6 separate regions of the Homo sapiens genome follow, and all the other regions are linked to region 1. Evidence: promoter capture Hi-C in human tissues and cell types (Jung and others, 2019). All regions are on one chromosome and are shown on one strand. The core of a region is centred on a gene start or on the middle of the fragment in contact, and the rest is flanking DNA. Distances in the headings are between cores, read along the strand shown.

Region 1 (3,884 bases), core at 447-2,946:
CACACGAACAGATATTTCCCTCTAAGACAGTTTCCTGACCAGGTTCTTTTTTTTTTTTTTTAAAGAAAGAAAGAAAAACAAAAACCAGACCGAACCTGCCTTCCCGCTGTGGCTGCTCGGCGCCCCAATTAAGCAGGTCGCGGCGAGAGCGCCAAGCCCTGGAGCTTTCCTCCCGCACGGGTTCCCGCCCCTCCCCAGGCCTCCGAAAAGCAGGAAAGAAAAAACAAATCCCATACTTTTCTCCCGGGGCGCGAGGATCCTCTCGCCTCCAGAAGAGGGTGGAAGACTAAGAAGCCGCGGGTCTGGACTGAAGGGGCGCAAAGTGGGTGGTGAACAGGGTCGAACGCAGTCGAAAGCAAGCCTGGCGGCCGAGTCCTGTCCGCGCCCCTCGGAGCCAGGACGGTTGGGGGCATTGCCGAGGGTACCAGGAGCCTGGGGATCCCGCGGGCTCTGGGCTCCGCGGCGCCGGGCACGCACAGCCCAGCCTGCTCTGATTCGAGCGCACTGGGGGACAACTTCTCCGTTCGCACCCCTTCCCAAAGGGTCAAGCGGCCCGCAGGCCATCACTCCAAACCAGTCGTAGCTTCGGAGACTGGGGATCGACACCACGCCCGGCCCCGCGCCGCCTAGTTTCCCAACAGGGCGCGCTGGCCCGCGAGCCGGAGGAACCTCCGCCCAGGCCTTGCCAAGCGCCCACCCGGAGCAGGCCGGGGGCAGTGAAGGATGCGGCGGGAGCGGCGCGCTGCAGTTCCGCGACGTGGCACGTACCTTGGAAGCGATGACCCAGATATCGGTAGCGGTGGATGAGCCAGGGGTAGAAGGTGGACGGATCCCGCTGCTGCGAGGCGAATAGGGGGTGTGGCGAGTGCGAGGAGGGTAGGGGGTGGGCGGCCAGGGCGTGCGGCGGCGGCACCGGGTGCACTGGCACGGCGGGGTTGGGCGGGTGCGAGACCGCCTCGGCGAACACCAAGTCCGGGTTGGAGTAGACGCCCCTACCGGCGGCGGCGGCGGCGGCCGAGTGGAAGCCGTTGAGGAACGGATTTATGGGGCTGGAGTTAGCGTAGCTGAGTGCCGCGGGACGGATGGGGTCCTCGGAGCGCGAGGCGGGCAGGGGACTGTCCTTGGCCACCAGCGACTCGATGGTGAAGCAGCGCTTGGGCGCCGGCTGGAACATGCTGCGCCGAGGAGCGGGCGCCCTGGGCTCCCAGCTCCTGGCGACCGCCGCACGCTGCCTCCGCCGCCCGCTGCCCGCGGCGAGGACGGACGAGAATTGGGGACTCGTTTGTTTGGGGTGGGGGTGGGGGTGGGGGGAAGGAAAGGAAGAAAGAAAGGAAAGGAAAGGAAAAAGGAAAGGAGGGGGGAGGGAGAGGGAGAGGCAAAGCCGAGGATCCCGAGAATCTTGCACCAAACGCGCCCAACCTGAAGAGAGGGGGGAAAATCCTTCCAGAAGAATTTGCAGGCGTGGATTGGGGTAATTTTTTTTCTTTTTTTTTCTTTTTTTTTCTTTTTTTTTTTTTTTTTTTTTTTTGGCGAGATGGCGTGGGGGGATCGGAGTTAGAGGCAGGGAGGAGAAGGGGGGAAAGTTCTCGGGGGAGGCAAAAAAAAAAAAAAGTTTTTTCTCCTCTGCAAAAGGCGGGCAGGGCGCCCTAAGTCCAAGGACAATCCATGGAAGTGTTCGCTTCTTCACAAGTTGTGCAAACGATTTGTTAGTTCATGAGCCTAATTAGTGCGGGGATCACATAAACAGCTTCCTCCGAAGCCTGGTAAATGGCTTGATGATTGGTCGCTATTACTCGCCCTGAGGTGGAAGGGGGGAGACTCTTTAAAGTGCGTCAGAGGGAGGTGAGCGCCTGGGAACCCGGAGGCCTGGATCCGGGCCGAGAGTGGAACGGAGTCGGCGCCGCCGCCTCGGCTGAGCCTTCTGCCGCCCACCGGGCGGCCGGGCTTCTCCGCGCCTTCGCCCCTCGCTCCCAGCTCACTCGCTCCTGCGGCGCCCGCTGCGGCTTCTCCTCCTCCTTCGCCTCCTCCTCTTCCTCCAGTTTCTTCTTCTCCTCCTCCTCCTCTTCTTCCTCCTCCTCCTCTTCTTCCTCCTCCTCTTTCCCCACCTACTCCCCCTCAGCCACCGCCTCCTCCTCCACCAGCACCACTCCCTCCGGGGCACCCCGGTCCCTGCAGAGTCCCTGGCCGGCGCCGCCTCCGCTGCGGCCCCCTGAATCCCGAGCCTGCCTCGCCCAAGCTGGTAGGACAGAAGGACAGACAGATTCCTCTAGCCTAGCGCTCCGCCGCTGCTGCCTTACGCGGCCCCGCGTCGGGAGAACTGGGATCGCCCCAAGAGCACCGCGAGGGTAAGCGGGCAGGGGCTGGTTCCCGGGCTAAAGGCGCCGTTCGGTTATACCAATCCCCACACTTAGCAAAACTCCCAGCGGTTTCCTAGGCCAGGAGGGATCCTGGAGTGAGGGGTACGGGGTCCTCCCACCCCATCAACCACGCTTAGCCTCGAGGTCCCAGGGTCGGTGCGTTCGCGATTCTTGACCCGGCTCGTTCGTTTGCGAGTTGAGACCGGGAGCTGCCGACCCCGCCGGAGCAGTGGGCTTCCAACTCTCTCCCTCTCTCGCCCCACGGTCTCTAGCGTTTTCTGTCTGGGAGGGTGCTCACCTCCTTCCCCAAAACAATTCCTTCTGGAATATCTGGGACCGGCAGTCCAAGGTCAGGGGAGAGCCCGATATGGTGCTACTGTACTATTAAGGTTCCGTCGTAATTATTTTTGTCAGTGTGGTCAATGTTATTATTATTATAGATGATATTATTTTATTATTATTATTTCTATTATTATTATTATGCCATCTGTTGTCCCGGGGTTGGTGGGGGGGTGGTGGTTGCTGTGCAAACCCAGTGCAACTAACGACTACGGATCGCATCTCCGGTCCCGGGCCGTGTCCGCATTTTCGAGCTCGCCTTCGGTTTTGGGATGATTTTAGGACCGAGTTCCCTCGTCCCCATTGGCTCGCGCGGCGGCATAATTATGATCACATCCCCAGGCTGCTGGCGCTGCTCTCTGTTTATTGGTGGTTAAAGATCTATTATCTATTCATCAGCCGCCTCTTTTTTCCTTTTTTTCCTTTTGCCAATTACATTCTTCTAAAGTGAAGTACCAGCAGGTATTTTGCACGTTTACAATTAATGATAAAAAAAAATTCTAGCGTCGTTTAAAACTATTACTCCCAGGCCCCTGTCATTTCTCCTAAGAACGCAGAATTGCCTGTGTTTGGTGACTAGGTTGCCGTGAAACCTGGGAAGCCGATGGCAATGGGAGGAGAAGAGTGAAGTCCACCGTGAGCCAGGCTGCACTGCCACCAGATGCATAGTTGAGGGGACAGGTCTCAGGACGAGCTACCTGCTTCCTCCCTTGGTTTCATCTGGTGTATATTTATGTTTGTGTCAATTACTCCTTTATTCCAGATATAATGTTGTGTTGGGGCAAGTGTCCAAAAACCTCTTTTGGGAAACCAGGCAAGAGAGGAGTTGGGAGCAGTGTTTTCCGGGGTTGTCAGGGCACCAGACAGATTCGTGAGGAACTGGCAGAGATCATCTTTGTTGCCCCCACCCCACACCTTCCCAGGGAACACACATACACATCTTCACAGATGAGACAGGTGTGCGCCTCAGCTTTGCCCTCACAGTGGGAGACACCTGCCTTTCCCTTAGGCTTCGAAGTTCTGGGCTGGGGTCCTAGCCCAGTATTGTCCCTCTGTCAGTTCCAGGTGGCTTTGCTTTCTCCTCCTCCCCTTTTTCCAGGCCCAAAGATTCTGGGCTTTGGATCCAGCCCTTGGGGTAGGGGTGCACTTAAAGATGCACCTCCCTTGGGCCTGGACCACTGTCCCCCA
Region 2 (3,884 bases), core at 474-2,973, 490 kb before region 1:
AAATGCTACTCTCATTCCGTTAGCCTCCTACTTCCAGCCCTGCTTGCGTGGGCTGTGAAGATCTTTCTAATAGACTGAAAACAGATCCATAAAGCCGTATGTATGCATTTTTATGTACAACTAAACATTGTTAAAAATCTAAGTTTTAAAGGATTACTAAAATTTAATATTCAATCTAAATAGCACATTTCTGGAGACTATTAAGAACTGTGTATTAGGGTAGGTTGTCAGCTGTAATAACCACGGTATCAGTGGCTTATCACAGCAAAAGTTTATTGCTCACTCTTGTCACAAAGGAGTTCACTGGAATGGTGATAGGAAAAGTGAGTGCTTTGCTCTATGCATTCATCCAGCTCTGCACAGTCTCTCAGGAAGCAGGCTTCTTCCTTCTTGTGATGCCACCATTTAACACATGGCCTCCAAGATCAGTGCAGCGCAGGAGGAGAGAGAGGATCAAAGGAGGGTCATTTCTGTGTGCCAGGCCTAGTGCAGTATGCATTACTTCCACATATGTCCCATTGGCCAGAGCTCACCCGTGCCCCAGCCTCACTGCAACCTGTGAAGAACTGTGACTTAGCTGTATACGCAGAAGGAAGCTGAATTGGGTTTAGTGAGCTTACAATATTGTGTGTGCCATTGATGCCTAATCAGCTTGCTACTAAGAAGTCGGGATGCTGTCCAATGCTGGCATGCTGCAAAACTCCTATGACACATATACAGTAAGTAGTGTTGGAGTTCTTGTAATCTTCAGGAGAATGTTTTCTCAGTTTATTACTGGTACTAAGTTGTTTGTATTTTATAATTGCCACTAGTCTTGTTTTTTAATTGTAAGTCACAGGTTGTTTAGCATCATCAGTATCAACTAATTTTTTTCATGCTTTATCAAATAAATTGTCAACTAATTTATCATTTGGTTTATCACACAATTTGCGAAGTAATCCTTCTTTTTATCAGCAGTATATCATTTGCCAAAAACAAATATGCCTGAATGTTTGTTATACCATTTTTAATTTGTTCACAACAAATTATCTTTTAATATATTATAAAATCACAAATAATAAATTGTAAATAATGTTACCACCAGGCTGTTTTTCACTTAAAAGTGGAAATGATGGGTGTGTGTCTTCACCAAGCCAAATTTGTTCATTTCATTTCTTTTTTTTTTTTAACTAGGACATAGCAAGTTCTGGCTTATTTAAGAGTTCATGGAAGAGATGTATACCACTTTCAGGTCTGGCCCATGGAATGTCCTCTTAACACTCTTAACACAATCCTCCGTTTTGCCTCTTCCTCCATATCCTGGACCAGGGATTGGCAAACTAAGCTTGGAGGCCAAATCTGGCTTGCTGCCAGTTTTTGTAAAGTTTTGTTCGAACACAGCCGCATTATCGTCATAATTGTGTACGGTGGTAGCGTTGAGTAGTTGTGACAGAGACCATATGGCCCACAAAGCTAAAACTATTTATTGTTTGGGCTTTACAGAAATACTTTGCTGACCCCTGCAGTAGCTGAATGGAGAGGATCTTTGAGATGGGCAGAGCTGTAAGTAGGAGCAGCCTGGGTCTCTGCATGCAAGTGGAAGGCCCACCTGACGAGGAATAGCCAAGTGGCCCTTGTCCAAATGATAAATTCACAGGATATAAGTTACTGAGATTTATATATATATTTATTAGAGCACTTAGCATTATTTATCCTACTGAGGAGGGCACATGGGCTGTAGTACCTTTCGTTGTGTTTAAGAAAGCCCTAGTCAAAAAAGTTTAAGAACTACTGGTTTGCAACACCAAATCCAAACTCCTCTTTCTAACGTTCTAAGGCTTGTTGTATTTTAGGCTTTTCTTAACCTTCCAAGTTTTCTTTTACTGTTCCTCACCAACCTGTTCTAGGTAAGTTAATTTCCTTACTGCCATGTCTCTACACTGAGGTCCTTGTAAGCCATGCCGTCTTCATTCCCGGGCTCAATTGTGGGGTGCACTCTCAACTCATCTCTGAGTGTTCTTTTTTGAGTAATAACCTCGTGTTTCCCTTTGGATTTCTGCTGATATAGAAGAAGTAATTACTATACAATGTTTATTGTACTAGGTCTTATATTAAGCTGTGTAAGCTTCATAACAGTTGTGCAGAATCCTCTTTCTTGGGTGCACCACAGCACCTAGATTTGTGCATGACCTCAGTGCTGATCATCAAGGGCTCCTGGAGATTATTTTTTTTTAGCTACAATTTGTTGGGCCTCCCCTCTGACTGAATTAGAATCTTTAGTGAGTAGGCCCTGAAATGAAAATCAACATTTTAATAACTTCCCATTGACTATCGGGTTTAAAAATTGCTAATCTATATTATATCACCTACAGTGGTCCTCCTACTCTATGGGGATACATTCCAAGACCCCCAGTGGATTCCTGAAACCAGGCACAGTTCCGAACCCTATATATCCTGTGTTTTTTTTTCTATACATATATACCTATGATAAAGTTTAATTCATAAATTAGGCACAGTAAGAGAGTAACAATAATAATGAAATAGAACAATTACAACAATATGCCAGCATCACTCCTCTTGCACATTGGGGCCATTATTAAGTAAAATAAGGGCTACTCAAACACAAGCACTGTAATACTGCAATAGGCGACCTGATAGCCGAGATGGCTACTAAGTAACTAATGGGCAGGCAGTGTAGACAGTGTGGGTACACTGAACAAAGGGACTGAACAAAGGGATGATTCACATCCCAGGCAGTACAGAATCGGATGGCCTACCATGTCATGAGGCTACTCAGAAGGACACGCAAATTAAAACTTAGGAATTATTTCTGGAATTTTCCATTTAATATTTTTGGACTATGGTGGTTAACTGAAACTGTGGAAAGCAAAACCACAGATAAGGGGATGGGACTACTTTATTTCCTAAGCTTTCAGTAAGTATTCACTGTGAATGGAGATCAGGAATTGTGCTGGCAAATGCGTACTTAAATTAGACAACTTAGTCATATTAGCTCTGCTTGCAGGTCCCTAACTAAGGTAGAGGGTATAGTAAGGAAGTTAGCTTGGCTAAAACAGAGATATGGTGGAAAGGAGTAAAAGATATGGCTGAATAGGTTAAACACACACACACGCACGCACGCACCTAATGCACACACACACACCCTAAATTATAGTGAGCATTGAAGACCAGGCAGAAAAGTCTATTAAATATTTATGGCATCTATGAATGAATTGTTTCTCAGGATTGAGGTAAAACCTGAGAGTCAATAGTGATGAATGACGCTTAAAAATATGCTTCTATTTGTATGCTACCCATGGTAAATTGAGGAGAAATTCCATGATGTGTATTCTTTGAAGGAGGTGTAAGTTCCTTGAAAAATTTCAGGACCACAGAACTCCACCTACTGAAGGGAATTCTGCTTGAGAGAATAAGATTGAGAGAGTAAGATTTTCTGTCTGTTAGAGAAAATTGCTTATGTATGTCTTATTCTGAATTTTTTTAAAAAAATCAATATAAGCCTACTACTCTGTGTGATGAGTTTCTGTTGTTTGATGTTAGGGGGGCAGCTGTTCTGAGAGTAATAATTTAATGGGAGATATTTTTACCAGAGAATTTTGTTTGGGGACCGACCTTCTATTTGTGACTCATAGAAAGAACATGCTTTCACTCCATTATTTTCTGCTCTACTGTGGTAGTTGTGAATGCCATGTAGCAAATTCTTAACTACTCCTGAATAACTAAATGGTATGTTCTGTAATATTATTTCTAGTATTAATTGATTTTCCAAAGCATGTATTTCCATTTTTAATGTTTGGTGGAAGAGCCTCCCTCCTTTTTAGCAGATGATCTCACGCCAAATAGTTATATTTTAGGATGGTACAGAAATAGTATCTAAGATGCAG
Region 3 (3,884 bases), core at 659-3,158, 460 kb before region 1:
CCAATTGTATTGTATTGATAATTGGACAAAGAGAGAGAAAGAAAGAAGGAAGGAAGGAAAAACTTGTTACTGAAAGAGACTACACTATCAGGTTTCATTACATATTCTCCTTTATTGTGAAGAGTAGTTTTACCTGTAAATATTAGCAGGGACTATCAAGAGTGACCTTTGAAGCAAGCTAAATCATTTAAATGTTTAAATTGAAAATGGGCCAGATTCTCAATGAATAAGTGGTTCCTTAGGACTCACTCAGGTGCTGGTACTGACCCACTAATCTGCCATAGGCCCAGAAATATCTTCAGAAGTACGTGAGTTGTTCCTCAGGAATAGATTTTTCATAAAGCAGAATTGATCCTGTGGCTGGTTTCTCAGAAATCAGTTTGTAGAAATATTTAGCTTCAGGAATACTGCTCGTTATAAACACTACTAAAAAAACAGTTTATATTTTATATACACATATGTACATGAATATATATATATTCATGTATCTTGTATATAAAATATAGGCATATACCTCATATATACATGTGTTTTTAGAACATTTAGAAACAATTGATTGCCTCTAAAGTTAGGCTACCAATTTCTTGATTTGAAAATGTGTGTGCTCTATTGATGCAAGACAAGTCATCCTTCCTACTGTCATGGTTTGTTATAGAGAAGCTGCTTCAAATCACTCTTGACTACATGGACCTTGGTTTCAAAGTGAGCTGCTATATATTATTCTAGCATCAAAGTTTTTCTCTTTCCCCAAAAGTGATGATCTCAAGTCCTTTTTTAAAGAATGACAAATTTTAGGAGACTTCATTAACTTCATAACAGCATGAATTTATTTGAATTAATTAACATTTGAGTTTGTTTAAGGTATAAGCAGAAGATAAGCTAATATAGCTTGTTTTGTTGAAATTCTGCATGCCTTTAAATCACTAGCAAAGCAAATATTATAAAGTTATATCTGAAAATAATTGTGGGAAGTATGTGATTGCCTGGTGTGTCTGATAACCCAAAGCAGCGGGCAGATTCCAGGAATGAAGAATTAGGCTTGGTTTCAGGTTACATAAATAATAGAGCAGATGGTTGCCTTTGGGTCTTGAACCAAAATAAGACTTACTAAAGGAAGAGTGAGTTTTTAGAAGAGAACTTTACGAGCGTGACATTATGCATTACTCCACATCCACCCTTTAAGAATTGATTTATTACAAAATTATGTTCTATTTTAAAGTCCACTCCCCCAAAATACTGATTTCTTCCATGGATTATTTTTATATGATTTGTACAAATTTTTTCTGAAATTTAAATTGACAAGCAATGTTATAAAAATATTGCTAATCTTCTGCTTATTTTTCAGCCTTTAAAGTCTGAAATACTATAAAACACTGAGAGTATCTATGTCTTTCTGAATTTAAAATGAAAATTCATGTCCATATGGAGACTTACATATTCCCCAATCTTTCCATGAATTGCATTTTTTTCTAATACTTATCTCTGTTAAGACTCCATTGAAAGTTAAACAAAAAGCCGATATAATAGTTTGGGTTTTTTTTTTTTGCTTATTTTAGTATTTTGAATCAGAGAATACTTGGCCAAGCTCGTATTTGTAAACTAAAACCCCTTGTTATTTGTATCTTCTGCATTTCAGTTTTACTGTAAGAACATACATTTTGAAATTATGAACATTTTTTTCATAAAAATTAAATGCTTTAAGAAATGGAGAAGGAAAAATAGCTTTTATCAATTTTTTTCTCCTCAAGATTCTGTAATAAACCTCAAAGTCTGGTGTAGAATGGTATTTTCCCGTTTGAGGTCTTGGTAGTTTTTTTTTTTTTTTTAAACATGGTGCCACTTTTAATTAACTAAATGTTACAAAATTCTCAGCATTTGTTTTTGTCTGGTAGTATTATTGAGTCTTTTCATACACTTCTTAAAATGTGAAAATCTATGTTTTCAGTATTATGACAGTATCTGCAGATACTATAATAATATGCTTTGGCCAAATTTGCTGTTTATAGAGTGAACCAAGATGTCAGTTTTGTATTGGGGATATGTTTTACATAAATAGAACTCATTTAAAAGTATGGTTCAAGTACTGCTCTTCTTTTTATGGGGAAATTGATTTTTAAGGAGCGATTCTTTTCCTATATAAAAGCTATTGAGGCTTAGCTTTATTCATACATGAGTGATTTGGTTATAACTCAATCAAAATTTTTATCTTTAAATCTGAGACAAGTATTATATTTAAAACTAGATCTATTAATACATTCATCACTGCCTGAAAATTTGCTGTTCTAATGTTTGTGAATTTTCACTCATTACCTAGAGTAAACTTATTGCATATTTTCATAATCAGTCAAAATAATAAAACTAAAAACAAAAAGTAAAAATTAGTTCCCAAGTAAATATATCAGTGTTTCCTGTGTTTGGGCAGAAGTGCAAAGTAGTTTTAATTTCTCACGTTGTAGAAAAAGAGGCCAAAAAGGTCACCTTAGTTTATTTTTCCAAAACATAACTTTAGGTATTCTAATGTATTTTGTTAGTTGCTTAGAAATGGAAATAAAATATATGTGCTTATTAAATAATGCACAGTACACTAGATTATAGAGTTTATTTTTGCTTTTATGCTTTAAAGAATGCATGCCCAAAACACTACTACCAACAAGAGGATTTTTTAAAATCACAGAATTGATATTTATCTCAAGACTATCTTAAGCTAATGTACTTCTGTTACATAATTAAACTATTTCTGCTATTATTTTTAAAGCAGTATTATTTTATAACCAATTCTAAAATTCAGCTTTAAAAATATTGAACATACCTTCCTACCACTTACGCTTCAAGTTTCATTTATTGAATACCAGGGTCATATCTTAGAATTGTATATAAAACAACATGTAACCCATTCATGAAAAACGTTTTTAAGTATTGCTTTTTGCTGCTATGTTCTGCATTGAGCCTAGTTTTGCCATTGTCCCCTGAATGTAGTATTATCTATAGATTATACATAACTACATCTATTGCTTTTGGTGGTAAATCAAGATTTAGTTGTAATTTTCCAGCTGTGAAAATGTTGCCTTGTATTTAAAAGGGTTTCATGAATGGAAACCTAAGTAAAACTAAGCTCATTAGTGACAGACTTGTTTTCTTCTTGTTATTCCTCCAGCAACTCCCTCACCACCACGCCTCCCTGCCTACCATCCCCGGAAGGGTGCTTATTCTTTAACAAAGAGAATCTAAAAAAAAAAACAAAAAACTGTTGTCTAATATATCTACAGTAAATGTTACACTAGAGCTTTTATTTTCCTCTGTAGCTTTTCAGAAGAAGCAATTTACCTTGGATTTGTAAATCAAGCTGAAACTTTTTTGATGTTCATGTACTCATATGTCTTGTAGGTGGTAGGTGTCACTTGTGTGTATGTGTAAGTGAAGTATGATGCATGCTCATTCACTTGGTCCCTTTGAAATAAGGGAAAGGATCACAGTGCTGCTGGGCCATGATGGTATGTAGAAGGGTCTGTCAGCACACATGGAAAGCCCCCATTTGCACAGATGTAGAACTTTAATAATCCAGATGCAATCATTGGAAGTATTTAATATGCAATTGGTAGCACCTTAGCTAATTAATCTGCATATGAAGCATTTTCTGATATATTTAATAAGAGGTATAGAAGCTCTTCAAGCATTAAAATAGAGTTGATGTTTCATTCCATTTGTTTTATCCATCAAAAAATGCACTCTCACAGTGGAGTTGAAGTCTAATACATGATACATGTGGGCCTGTTAGTCTTCGAAGCTTCCAGATGGTTTGTGTTTTGAGGTACAAAAAAATGCTGCAGATCTAGAAATGCATATATTTAGCGGGTATTTGAAAGATAGAAGCATTATTTATAACT
Region 4 (3,884 bases), core at 355-2,854, 420 kb before region 1:
AATGGGGTCATGGATTTTAGCATGAATAAATCCAGTCCTGTTGACATCTTTTAAAAACTTTATCTGCCACAGTCTTCAATTGGCATTGAGATTTTAAAAGATTTTATTGTATGTGTTCTTCATACATATGAATGGATTTACACATAGGATGAAAATTTGAACTATCTAGAAGAAAAGCACTATTTATATTGAAGGTATTCATATACTTTATTGCTAGTTTTTTTATGTCAGCATTGAATAATAGTCTAGAGAAACCACAATTTAAACTATTTTAAAATAAGTCAGTCTTGAATTTTGCACTTAAAGGGTGTGGATTTTTCATGAAACATAATGCAAAGCATATATTGGGAGGGTTTATTTTACTGACAAATACCACTGATGATCCACTTTTTTGGTGGGTGGTATGAGGCTAGTTCAAAACAAGCATGAAGTGAGTGAGTGGTATCGGAAGACAGAAAGACACACATAAACGTACACCTACAGAGTTTTCTGCAAAGTTTATGCAGAGCACTCAATTTATGCAAATTTCATGCAACATACACACATATGGCTACATAGAGCTATGTATGCATCCCAGACACTTATTGATCACTGAGAAATTATTAAGCCAATGTTGTCATGTATGTCTAACTCAGTAATGGGATTTTCACTAGGTGAAATTATTATTTTTATTTTTAAATCCTTGCTGTGATTATTTTAAAATCTACATATCATGTGGGTTTGGATATTATGCTGAAGTCAAATTATTATGAACTCTGAAATGGCTAAATTCATGAGCTAGTTAATTTCTACGACCATTGCAAAGATGACATTGTATTGCTATGAATTTTAATTAAAATAGCAGACTTTGTTTAATCCTTTTATTAAAAAACCGCCCTACAATGCAAGTAAAAAGTTTATGCAAGAAAGCAGTTAATTTTTGAAATGTTTAAATATCTTTTCTGTTTAAATCTCATAAACGTAGCCCTCCATCAATCCATTTTTTCCTTAGAAGGCGGTTTTCCACCTATTTTTTATAAAAACTAGAGCCTGAAATTTACTTTAAGTATAATTAGGGCCCTAAAATGTATGGTTGCTCTCTGAAAACTATATCTCCAAGCTCTTTTGCAATACAAGTTAATTAACTGGATTTAGATATTTGCAAGATGATATATTTAATGGGATTACTGCTCATATAATGTTCTCAGTGACTGATTTGCAATCTAAGCTCACGAAACCGAGTGCTGAATTTCCAGCTCTTTGAGAGTTAATGTTGTGTTAAGGAAAGGTACAGTTTGAACCTCATTGTTCATGAATAGGTGAGTTATTCCCGTGAAATGGAGCTGGGCCCTACGAGGGGTGCAGCAGGCAGATGCATGATCAGAAGCCCGCAGACCATCACATTCCAGCAACTGCCCCAGGTAGCTGGATCCCCACACCTGAACTTCTGAGAAGTTCAAGGCAATTGTGTGTTCCATCAAAATATAATGGCCCATTATTCACAGTCTGTCTCCTAAGTGGGATCAATTAGTTGCTCCTGCTCCACAGGCTTAAACACCCATATTTTGGTCGGCTGTGAGTCCAAATGAAACCATACATAACCATTCTGCCACTGTGAGCACTGAACGTTCTAAATCCATCTTTCAATGCAGGCATTCAAAATATTTGTGATTATTTTTATCAGGCTGGGTGGATAGATAAGTAATAATTTGCTTGGAGGGAAGAACTGTCAGCCTTCCAAAAAAAAAAAAAAAAAAAAAAAAAAAAAAAAAAACCCTTCCTATTCATGTCTGCCTTTGTCTCTTTTGCTCTTTTTTTGTTAAGCAAATATATTTCTGCCCGTCAATTGGGTTCACTCTGATGTTATGGCTTCAGTCATTGAACATGACACTACTAATGAATATAATTTAAATCTCTCTGAGCAGAAGACTACTGTAAAAATAGCATTTTAACTAAAATGTTGAAACTTTTATTAAATGTATAAATATTAGCTGAGTCAAATCACTATTAAGAGAAAATTTAAATTCTCTCTTAGTTTAGAAGTCTATATAATGGTATATCCAATTTCTCCTTTTCATTGGAACTTAGCGAGTAAAATAATTCTTTGTACTTGACCTAACAAGATTATTTCCAGGGATTCATAAATGCAGACTGTACTTTGTACCTAGCTTCTAGATAACCGTTGAACTCTCTCACAACAAATGGATGACTTTAAAAAGAAGCTTGTAACGTAGTCATGACTGTTTCCCCCAGTCTTTCTCTAGGTACTCATACAGATGACTGCAGACAAAAATGAAAGAGCAATTTGAATGCAGATCAAAAAGCCAGAAGCCAGAATCAACAAACCCAAGGATTGAGTCAGCTGTGAGGTCATTTGGTCTAGATTTGCTTTATGGAGGGGTAGACTGTTGCCCAAAGAGGTGGTGTAACTTGCTGGATGGGAGAACCAAAGCGTGGGTCTCATTCAGCTCCTGAAGCTCCCTGGTGGAAGGCTAGGCTCAGGGAAATGGCTGTGAGAAGGGAAGGGATATATATGAAGGAGGGAAGGTGTCTGACTTCTGCTCTTCTTTCTTCCCTAACACTCTACTGAGTCAGAAGCAGCTCACAGGCTGCTCCCCACAGCTCCCCTGTACCTGTCAGGTAAAGTGAGTTTAGACCGAAACACCTGTGGATGGGGAATTCCCTCACCATGGTTGGGGATTTAGAGGTTAGCATACACCAATAAGCCCTGCAGTGATTTTAGAGGGCTCCTGACTTGACTTGTTGGGGTTCACCCCACCCTCTCTCTTAGCTATCTTGCTTCCCTTCTCCCTACCCTTCTAATTTGCCCAGTAGCTGACGGGTTTCCTAGGTCCCTGAACCCTTCTTTTTTACCCACCATAGATGAAGCCTTCACTGCTCATCTGCACTGTTGTGTGTTTCAGCTTTGGAGGTTCATGGAAAGAACTATTTTTCTACCTTATTGAACTCTTCCTAAGTCAAGAGAATTGGATTCAACCTCCCTGCCCTTTTCACCTCATTAACCTCTATCCTTTCCTTAGATCTCAGTTCATTTTCAAGCCTTCCCTGACCTGCATCACCAGGTCAATCCCTGCATCAGAGGCTTCCATAGCATCATATAGCTCTCCCTGTAGCACTTAACAGAATTGTAATTTTATATGCACTTATGTGCTGTTTCTAATATAAGTTTTTATTTTGAAATAGTTAAGACCACACGACGTTACAACATGAGTACTGAGAATTCCCGTATACCCTACTCCCAGTTTCCTCCAATGGTAACATCGTCCATAACCATGGTACATGGTCAAAACTAGGAATTGACATTGGCACAGTGCTATTGATTCAGGTAAAAACCTTACCCGGATTTCCACATTTTTTACATGAATGTTGTGTATGTATAGTTTCATCAAATTTTAGGTTCTGGTAACTATCACCACAATCAGGATACGAAACTCTTCTTTCACAATTGAGAAGTGACTTCATGTTACCTTTTAATAATTTCATCCTTTCCCCAGCCCTAACCCCTGGCAACTACTGATCTGTTCTTCATTACTTTAATTTTGTAAATTGAGGAATGTTATATAAATGGAATCATAAAATGTTTAACCCTTTGGCAATGGCTTTCTACATGCATCGTGGTTCCCTTGAGAGCCAACCAAGTTGTTTGCATGCAGCAGTCATTTGTTCTCTCCTATTGCTGAGTTGCACCCCTTGGGATGTTTGTATCACCATTTGCTTATCTGTTTACTTGTTGAAGGGCATTTGGGTTGTTTCTCGTTTGGGGCTATAGAAGTCAGTAGGGGTTTGGGGCTTATATAAGTAAATAGAACTTCTATAAACATTTATGTACAGGTTTTTGTGGGAACACGCCATTTTCATTTCTCTTGAATACATACTGAGGAGTG
Region 5 (3,884 bases), core at 484-2,983, 380 kb after region 1:
CCCCAAAAATGCAGGCGCCGCCTTTGAGAGGAAAAAAAAAAGCGCTGGAGGTTGGCCGCCTGCATTTGATCGCCTTCCGAGTTTACGTAGAAATCCATCCGAAGAAAGGTCCGATAGAAGGCGGAGAAGGCGGAGGCCCACCCCTGTCCAAGTACGAGCCATCCCCAAAGTACAGGGATGAGAAGGGGGGCTGAACCTTCTCTCCAGGACCCAGCGCCAGGCCCACTACACCCCCAGAATCGGTGTTGTTTGGGAAATGCCTTTCTATCCTAAAGGAGGCTGTGTCCAGGCTTAAAATATGCAGAAGCAGTGAGCAGACGGGACCCGGTGACGTGCGCGGGGCTTTTCCCACCCAAGGGGCTAGGAACTCCACTCCCTGTCCCGTCCCGGGGAAAGAGACCGAGCACTCGGCTCCGGGGCCAAATGTGAGTCCAGGAGCTTGGTGAAATAGAAACCGGACATATTCTCTTTGGACTCGGCCTCCTTTTGCTGGGATTTTTGTTTTTGGTTTCTCTCTCTCTCTCTCATAGCGCTTTGCAATACATAAAATAAAAACGCATGTCTGTGTGTGAATGCTTTGCCCGTTCTTTGAAGAATTCACACTTTAAAATTGCTTTCTGTGAGCGCAGAGGAAGAACATATAAACCACCGTTATGTAATTTGAAACCATCAATAGCCCCCTTTTAAGGTTGTCTTTATTGTGGGAAGTCAAGGTAATGATTTTGTCGCTGTCTAATTTCATCCCAATGTATGGCGTTGCTTTTATAGCCTTTCAAAGGTAAGTGAAAGGCATCAATCTAGGGCCCTTTTTCTGGCCGATTAACAGTTTAAACTGGTTTTCTAACCCTGTCACAACTATTGGGCTGATAAACAGGATTTCTGCGGAGGCATTAGCAAGTCTGTAAATAAATCATTAAAAAAAAAAAACACACACACACACACACACCACCTCAGGCAATTCTAAGTTCCTCTGACAAAAATAAACCATAAGTCCACAGGGGTGTATGTGTGTATGCATGTGTGTGTTTCTCACCTCCAAGAAGAGGTAGTTACAAGTGACCTCTCAAGAGTTATTTGTGTCCTGGTTATTATTATTACTACTATTGTCATAATCTTAGGAGAAAGTGAACAAGCTGACGACACAGGGATGGAAATCAATGAGCTTGTGGGTTCTGCATTGACTCTACCTTATTGTAGGAAATGTCCCCCTTTAATCATGGGTAAGCCTGGCGCTGCTGCCAACCTTCTTTGACATAGAACGGTCCAAATAGAAATATCCCGTTTTATTGCAACGGGTCCTTGGAAGAAGATACTTTATGTGGACGGTACTGGGACAACTGCTGAAGAAACGACAGACATGAAGGCATACTTGACACCAACATAGAGATACCCATCCGTCACCTTTGATCTCCCCTCCCCCATGCCACTGAGAAATAATTTTTTAAAAAATAGAAGCAAAATGGCAAACTAGACAATTTGAGACTTAAATAAAAATAGCTTTAGGCCCAGACCCACTGGAAGCTTTTTCTTTTTGACGCTGCCGTGTTTCTCTGATGCAACAGAAACCTCTGACCCCCCGCCCGGGGTCTCGCACCAAGGCCAGACAGCCCCGCTCCCGGGGTCACCCGAGGGTTACCTTTGGGTGCAGGCGCGGCCTTTCTCCGAAGGGAGGGGCAGCTCCCCTGCCCCTGCAAAATGAAGGAGAAATGATAAGCAGCGGTGAAACCGTCTAGAGGCCCAGCCTGGCACCCGCCCCGCCAGGTGCTGGGGGAGGCGACAGCCTGCAGCGCCAAGGGGATGCTCCTCGGGCGCAGCGGGCGGGACAGCTTGGGCTGTCCCTTTTGTTTTCAACGCTCCTCTTGCGGCGAGTTCCGGGAGTTTAGGGCCCCGGCCCAGAAAGGAAAAAGCGAGAAGGCGCGTCTGGGCTCTGTAGGAGTGCAGCCGCTGCCGAGTCCAAGCGGCCCCAGGCCAGGCCAGACGTTGAGGTGAGGTTGCCCAGCAGGCGGGGACCCCAGCTCGGAGAGGGTTCTCCGCGTCCCCAGCCGTCGGCGCAGGAAGTTGAGGCGGCCAACATGCCTTCGTCCCCACTCGACTCCCGGGCCCACGTGCTGGTCCACGCCGGGGACCTGAGAGCATCGCGACTAGGGGGCTGCGGGACGCCTCCCGAGCGTCGAGGAAAGACAGGACCGGGGGGAGCAGGCGGGGCCCACGCGGTTGCATTTCTCGCCCCGCCGCCGCCTTCAAGAAGCAGAACCCGGAGCCCCACCTGCACCCTCACTCCGGCCCCCGAGCCCGGCCTGGCCGGCAGTGCTCGGGGAGGCCCTGGGTGGCGCTGTCTCCTCCCCTCCTGCAAACGCCACCGCCAGAAAATCGCTCCCACCCCACCCGGCCAGGCGAGCCACCGACCCGGGGCTGCGTCCGCCTCGGTTCAGCCTCGGTTCAGCCTCTCCGGGTGCGGATCCCGGACCCGGCCAGCAGACGGAGGCTGGCGGAGCGCAGAGTCCCGGCGACTCCCACCTCCCGGAGGGGGCACGGGGACTTGCGTGGGGCGGGCGGGGGCCGGGATTCCGGGCGGGGCGAAGGGACCCAGCTCGGCTGCGGGGCGCGCGGTCGCTCTCCCTCAGGACTGCGGCTCGGATCCCTCCCTACCTCTCCCGGTCCCTCGCAGGACTCTACATCGCCTTCGGCGTTTCCTCTCCCTCCCGCAGTTTCCACCCTTCGGCTTGTCTTACTCTCGGCTCCTTCGCCCACCCTTTCCTCCCCATCCTGTCCCCCGCCCCCACTCTTCTGCAGTTTGTAACTGAGAGCGCCCCAAACAACCCCATCAAGCCAATAAACCCAAAATGTGAGCACTGCCCAAACCCGTGTGCTTATCCTGCCGCTTCTAGAAGGCAAATTGATACGGGGTGGATTTGGAACGGCTTTCTCAGAGAGGCCCGAAAGCTTTCAAAAATTCTAAGTCAGGAGACAGCTGGCTGTTTTCTTAGCACCTCTGCAGCGCTGAGGATGTCTTCATCCTCCTCAGACACCCCCAGCCCGGGGATGTTAGCCCATTGCCCAGATGGAAGACAGAGCAGGGAGGTAACCCCAGCGGTTACAAACTTGATTCTTCTCATGTGGTGGACTCCAGTCTTTTGAATACGATCTCTACCTCTTGTTTTCCCTTCTTATTTAATTTCTTGATGTTTTCTTGGATGGTTTAAGCGACAGGAGGAAGAGAGGGCAAAGGCAGCCCCCGTACCTTTCAATAGAGTGAAATGGCCTGAAATTACAGCTACATAACTATCAAAAATGAAACTGTGTTTGTGAAAATCTGTAACCCTAGCTATGTAATTGGAGACATTCATGAAAGAAGGATATTGCACAGGTGAAAGTGATTTTTCAATTGCTTTCATATTTTTAATATTTTTCCAAATTGTTGAGAGGACTTTTCCTGAATACAAGGATGAATGTTTCGGCTTGGAAAGTTCAGTGTAGCCCTAGTCATTGGAAGGCTACAGTTATCATAAATTGCTTTTAAAGTGTTTATTAAAGTGATTGAAATTTGTTTCTTTAAAAAAAAATAGTCTCTGAACTTGCAAACTTCCTACCTTACCAAATAGACTTTCCTGAGACTTGAAAATGGTTCCCATGAACTTTCTCATGGCAAAATTACACAGTAAACATGTTCCTGGAACTCTTTTTTAAAAGGAGTTGGAGCCCAATCTTCACAACCATTCATTTTCCTGCCAGATTCTTTGCATTGGGCATTTCCTTGTGTGCCTGGGACCTTACTGTTGTTGAAGCAGAAGTTCTCATATAGGAAATTTTGCATTACTGAAGAACTCTGCTTTAGGGCAAAGGCTGAAATGATACAGGTTTAGGCATCCCATGCCTACTGAGTG
Region 6 (3,884 bases), core at 489-2,988, 300 kb before region 1:
ACAAACAACAAATTTCATCAAGCTACATAAATAGCCTCAACTAACTAAAATGCTTGATTAACTTGGATTATTGCTAATCGTTCATTTATTCATTCAACAAATATCTATTTGTCCCCTCCCCCCCACCACATCAGACCCTGTGAGAGGCATTAGGAATACATCGGTAAACAAAACAATTTATAATCTAGTATATCCACTTTTAATAGTCTGGTCGAATGGAGAAAACACCTTTGTAAATCAGAATATGTTTCTAAAAACCAAATCTTGTTTTCTATACCAAGACCATTTAAAATCTTATCATGATCATTATTCCAACTGTCAGAGACTGAGCCTGTGATGTTTGTTTTCCTGTATTTCTAAGGTAAGAGAAGTGAGTAATACATTTTCCAAAGATTTGTCTCAAGTTCTTCAACAAAAATGCCCCATATGGTAAACCTTCTGGTTATTGGGGGTTTTGTTAAATAGTATAAGCAGTAACTCAATGTTTTTTCAAATAGTGCTTGAATTCTTGACTCCAAACAATGGATGCTGTTTGGCATATGATTTGCATTTTTTCCTATAATATCCAAATTAACTGACCTCGGTTTTCCCCATCCCACCACCTGCCTTGTACCCTTTGCTCCCTTTCTTTCTTTCCATCTTTCTTTCTCTCTTTCTTTCTTTCTTTCTCCTTCCTTCCTTTCTTTCTTTCTTTCCCTTCTTTCTTTCTCCTTCCTTCCTTCCTTCCCTTCCTTCCTTCCCTCTTTCTTTCTTTCTTTTTCTTTCTTTCTTTCTTTCTTTCTTTCTTTCTTTCTTTCTTTCTTTCTTTCTTTCTTTCTTTCTTTCTTCCTTCCTTCCTTCCTTCCTTCCTTCCCTTCCTTTCTTTCACTTTAAGTTGTGAGATATATGTGCAGAACATGCAGGTTTGTTACATAGGTATACATGTGCCATGGTGGTTTGCTGCACCCATCAACCCATCATCTACATTAGGTATTTCTCCTAATGCTATCCCTCACCTAGCCCCCTGCCCCCCGACAGGCCCTGGTGGGAGATGTTCCCCTCCCTGTGTCCATGTGTTCTCATTGTTCAATTCCCACTTATGAGTGAGAACATGCGGTGTTTGGTTTTCTGTTCCTGTGTTAGTTTGCTGAGAATGATGGTTTCCAGCTTCATCCATGTCTCTGCAAAGGACATGAACTCATCGTTTTTTATGGCTGCATAGCATTCCATGGCGTATATGTGCCACATTTTCTTAATCCAGTCTATCATTGATGGGCATTTGGGTTGGTTCCAAGTCTTTGCTATTGTGAATAGTGCTACAATAAACATACATGTGCATGTGTCTTTATAGTAGAATGATTTATAATCCTTTGGGCGTATACCCAGTAATGGGATCACTGGGTCAAGTGGTATTTCTGGTTCTAGATCCTTGAGGAATCTCCACACTGTCTTCCACAATGGTTGAACTAATTTACACTCCCACCAACAGTATAAAAGCATTCCTGTTTCTCTACATCCTCTCAAGCACCTGTTGTTTCCTGACTTTTTAATGATCGCCATTCTAACTGGTATGAGATGGTATCTCATTGCGGTTTTGATTTGCATTTCTCTAATGACCAGTGGTAATGAGCTTTTTCTCATATGTTTGTTGGCCACATTAATGTTTCACGCCTTCTCTGCGGTGGATTCCCCCTGGTGGGCACTGATGTGGGTCACAAAGATCTACACATTATGTGCCTACTCCCTTGGCCCATCCACATTCTTCTTCCCAAGACTTCTTTGTTTCTGATTTTCTAATCTTGTTCATGTCAGATATTTGACCAACCAGGCAGACCATTTGCCACTTCCCTGGAGTCTATGTATATCCTTATTTCAGGTCACTTCTCCCTCCACACCAAGTTTGTGGCAAGGTATGCTTCTTGAATTTCTGCCCTTATTAATTTCAGGCCATCCCCTGAGTGACAGCATTCATTTTAGCATGCCATGATATCTTGGGCTGACTTCTCTGTGAGCCCCAAACTGAGTTTTTCCTCCTCAATCAGCTGGTCCTTGGGAAAACTTCCCCTGTGTCCATAAGCATGAGCCAGGAGAGAGGTGAGGTAGCTGGGGGATTCTTTCCTCATCTCCTGACAATCTCCTAGAACCTCTTAATTCCCTGGCACCTCAGTGAGAATGTAAACCTGGGAACACTTAAGCAGGGAGGTTGTAGGAATTTGGGCCAGCAAAACAGTGCCTGCCACACTAGCCAAAACCAGTTATAAAATGGAAATTTTAAAAAAATCCTATTCACTATATTAACCAGGAATAAATTTAATAATAAAGGCATAGAACTTATATAAAGAAAGCCATAAAATCTTATTGAAGATCTTAAAATAAGACCCCCAAAATTGGATAGACATAGTATGTTCCTGGTATTGGAAAACTTTATACCATAAAACATCAGTCCTCAAATTAACTTAGAAATGAAATGCAATTCAAATTAGCATCCAATGCTTGTTTCGTGGATGTTGGGAGTGCATGAAACTATTTTAAAGTTTATATGTAGTAATACCTATCTGAGAATGACCAGCAAGAGAAGTTTAAAAGGGAAAAATATCTGGGAGGTCCTCTTACAAAATTATGCAACTCACTATACTTTTTATGTATACGCATATATACCCACACACACATATATATATTATATATATATATATAATATATATACACACAATACTGAACTACACTATAATCTAATACACCACTGACAGAGAAAAAGGTAATAGATCAAGAACAAAATAGGTTCAGAAATAGATTACAGTCTATATGGGAGCAAAATACATACAAAGGTGGCATTTTAATTCCATGTGAAGAGGACCATTCATATATGAAATGATTCAGGAATAACTGGCTGGCTATCAGGGCTGGATGGAAAGCTATATCTCAAAACTCACATCATAAGCAAAAATAAATTCCAGATGAAATGCTCGAAAACTATGAGTTTGGAGAATGTTCAGTGCTACCCACACGAGAAGTAGGTGTGCTGGGCTCTGTCCTCAGGCAGGGAGTAACGAGAGCCTCATTGCTTCAAGCTTTGAACTTAAAAGCTTGAACTTGAAAGTTTCCCTGGCCAATGACTGAGATGATGAAGTGAACAGGTCCTGTGCCCTAAAGCACTTTTCCAAAATGAGTTTGTCCCTGCCCTGGGACAATGCATGTTTTGATCCCAGCTTGCCAAGATTAAGCTTTGTGTGCCTTGGAAAGTGACTTGACATCTCCAGACCTCAATTTCCTCACCCATGAAAGACTGTGGAAACTCAAAGAGAAGACAAAGGTAACACACTCAAAACAGTTCTTGGCACATAGTAAGCACCCGGTAAGTGCTACCCATTATTAGTTTTATTATTGTCATTAATATTGTTTCTGTTCTCCTCTGTTCAGCTAGCAAGTAAAATCAACTGGCTATTACCAGAAAACATCCTCCCTCAACATTCTGGGCATGAAGTGCTTCTCCTCTCATCATTAATACACAGGCACCGGTCCTGACAGAAACAGTTAAACCAGAGTGGGTCATGACTGCATTTATTCCCATTAGCATCTGCTTTCTAGTGCTTATTATAGTTATTATTATTATTGTTCTGCAGCCCCATGACTTTAACACATGGCTATTTATTTTCCTTTATAATTTTTTTCAAAGGCTGTTATCCCACTCTTTGTGAAAGTCCCACCTAACTAGGTCTACTTGGAGCCTATCATCTGCTAATGTATTTTTTTTTTCTGTTAAAGAAATTTTCCCTACTAACTTAGAAAAGGAAGAAACAGTGTCCAGCTTGACCTATCCAGTTAGACTAATCCCCATGTCATGATTGTTCTCTTTTAATTAGACTTCCCAACAGTTTTCCCAGGTCCAAACAGAGACTCCTCAGGGA

What was found. The method cuts DNA at HindIII sites, captures the fragments that hold promoters and counts their contacts. A contact is called where the count stands out against the background at its distance.
Region 2: a fragment that was not itself captured here is called in contact with the fragment with the promoter of EMX2 in region 1 in 1 of the 25 tissues and cell types used here (H1 embryonic stem cells).
Region 3: a contact is called between a fragment that was not itself captured here and the fragment with the promoter of EMX2 in region 1, in 1 of the 25 tissues and cell types used here (dorsolateral prefrontal cortex).
Region 4: a fragment that was not itself captured here is called in contact with the fragment with the promoter of EMX2 in region 1 in 2 of the 25 tissues and cell types used here (H1 embryonic stem cells and mesendoderm cells).
Region 5: a fragment that was not itself captured here is called in contact with the fragment with the promoter of EMX2 in region 1 in 1 of the 25 tissues and cell types used here (H1 embryonic stem cells).
Region 6: a contact is called between a fragment that was not itself captured here and the fragment with the promoter of EMX2 in region 1, in 2 of the 25 tissues and cell types used here (lymphoblastoid cells and small bowel).

The regions. Positions count from the first base shown.
Region 1 is chr10:117,540,558-117,544,441 of GRCh38, reverse strand. It overlaps EMX2 (empty spiracles homeobox 2), which reads right to left and starts at 1,696. Exons shown (of 3, transcript NM_004098.4): 1 at 769-1,696. The coding sequence starts at 1,174. It also overlaps EMX2OS. RefSeq lists an enhancer at 1-481. The HindIII fragment of the contact is 12,526 bases long and covers 1-3,884 here.
Region 2 is chr10:118,031,640-118,035,523 of GRCh38, reverse strand. All of the region lies in intron 3 of RAB11FIP2 (RAB11 family interacting protein 2), which reads left to right. Among named protein-coding and RNA genes, the nearest start is that of CASC2, 13 kb to the left of the region's middle. The HindIII fragment of the contact is 3,555 bases long and covers 1-3,500 here.
Region 3 is chr10:118,005,109-118,008,992 of GRCh38, reverse strand. RAB11FIP2 (RAB11 family interacting protein 2) reads left to right here. Exons shown (of 5, transcript NM_014904.3): 5 at 1-3,884. Among named protein-coding and RNA genes, the nearest start is that of CASC2, 40 kb to the left of the region's middle. The HindIII fragment of the contact is 8,693 bases long and covers 1-3,884 here.
Region 4 is chr10:117,959,013-117,962,896 of GRCh38, reverse strand. No RefSeq gene overlaps it. Among named protein-coding and RNA genes, the nearest start is that of CASC2, 86 kb to the left of the region's middle. The HindIII fragment of the contact is 7,704 bases long and covers 1-3,884 here.
Region 5 is chr10:117,161,703-117,165,586 of GRCh38, reverse strand. The region is part of intron 1 of MIR3663HG (MIR3663 host gene); the gene reads left to right. Among named protein-coding and RNA genes, the nearest start is that of MIR3663, 4.1 kb to the left of the region's middle. The HindIII fragment of the contact is 6,183 bases long and covers 1-3,884 here.
Region 6 is chr10:117,845,054-117,848,937 of GRCh38, reverse strand. No RefSeq gene overlaps it. Among named protein-coding and RNA genes, the nearest start is that of LINC02674, 110 kb to the right of the region's middle. The HindIII fragment of the contact is 8,189 bases long and covers 1-3,884 here.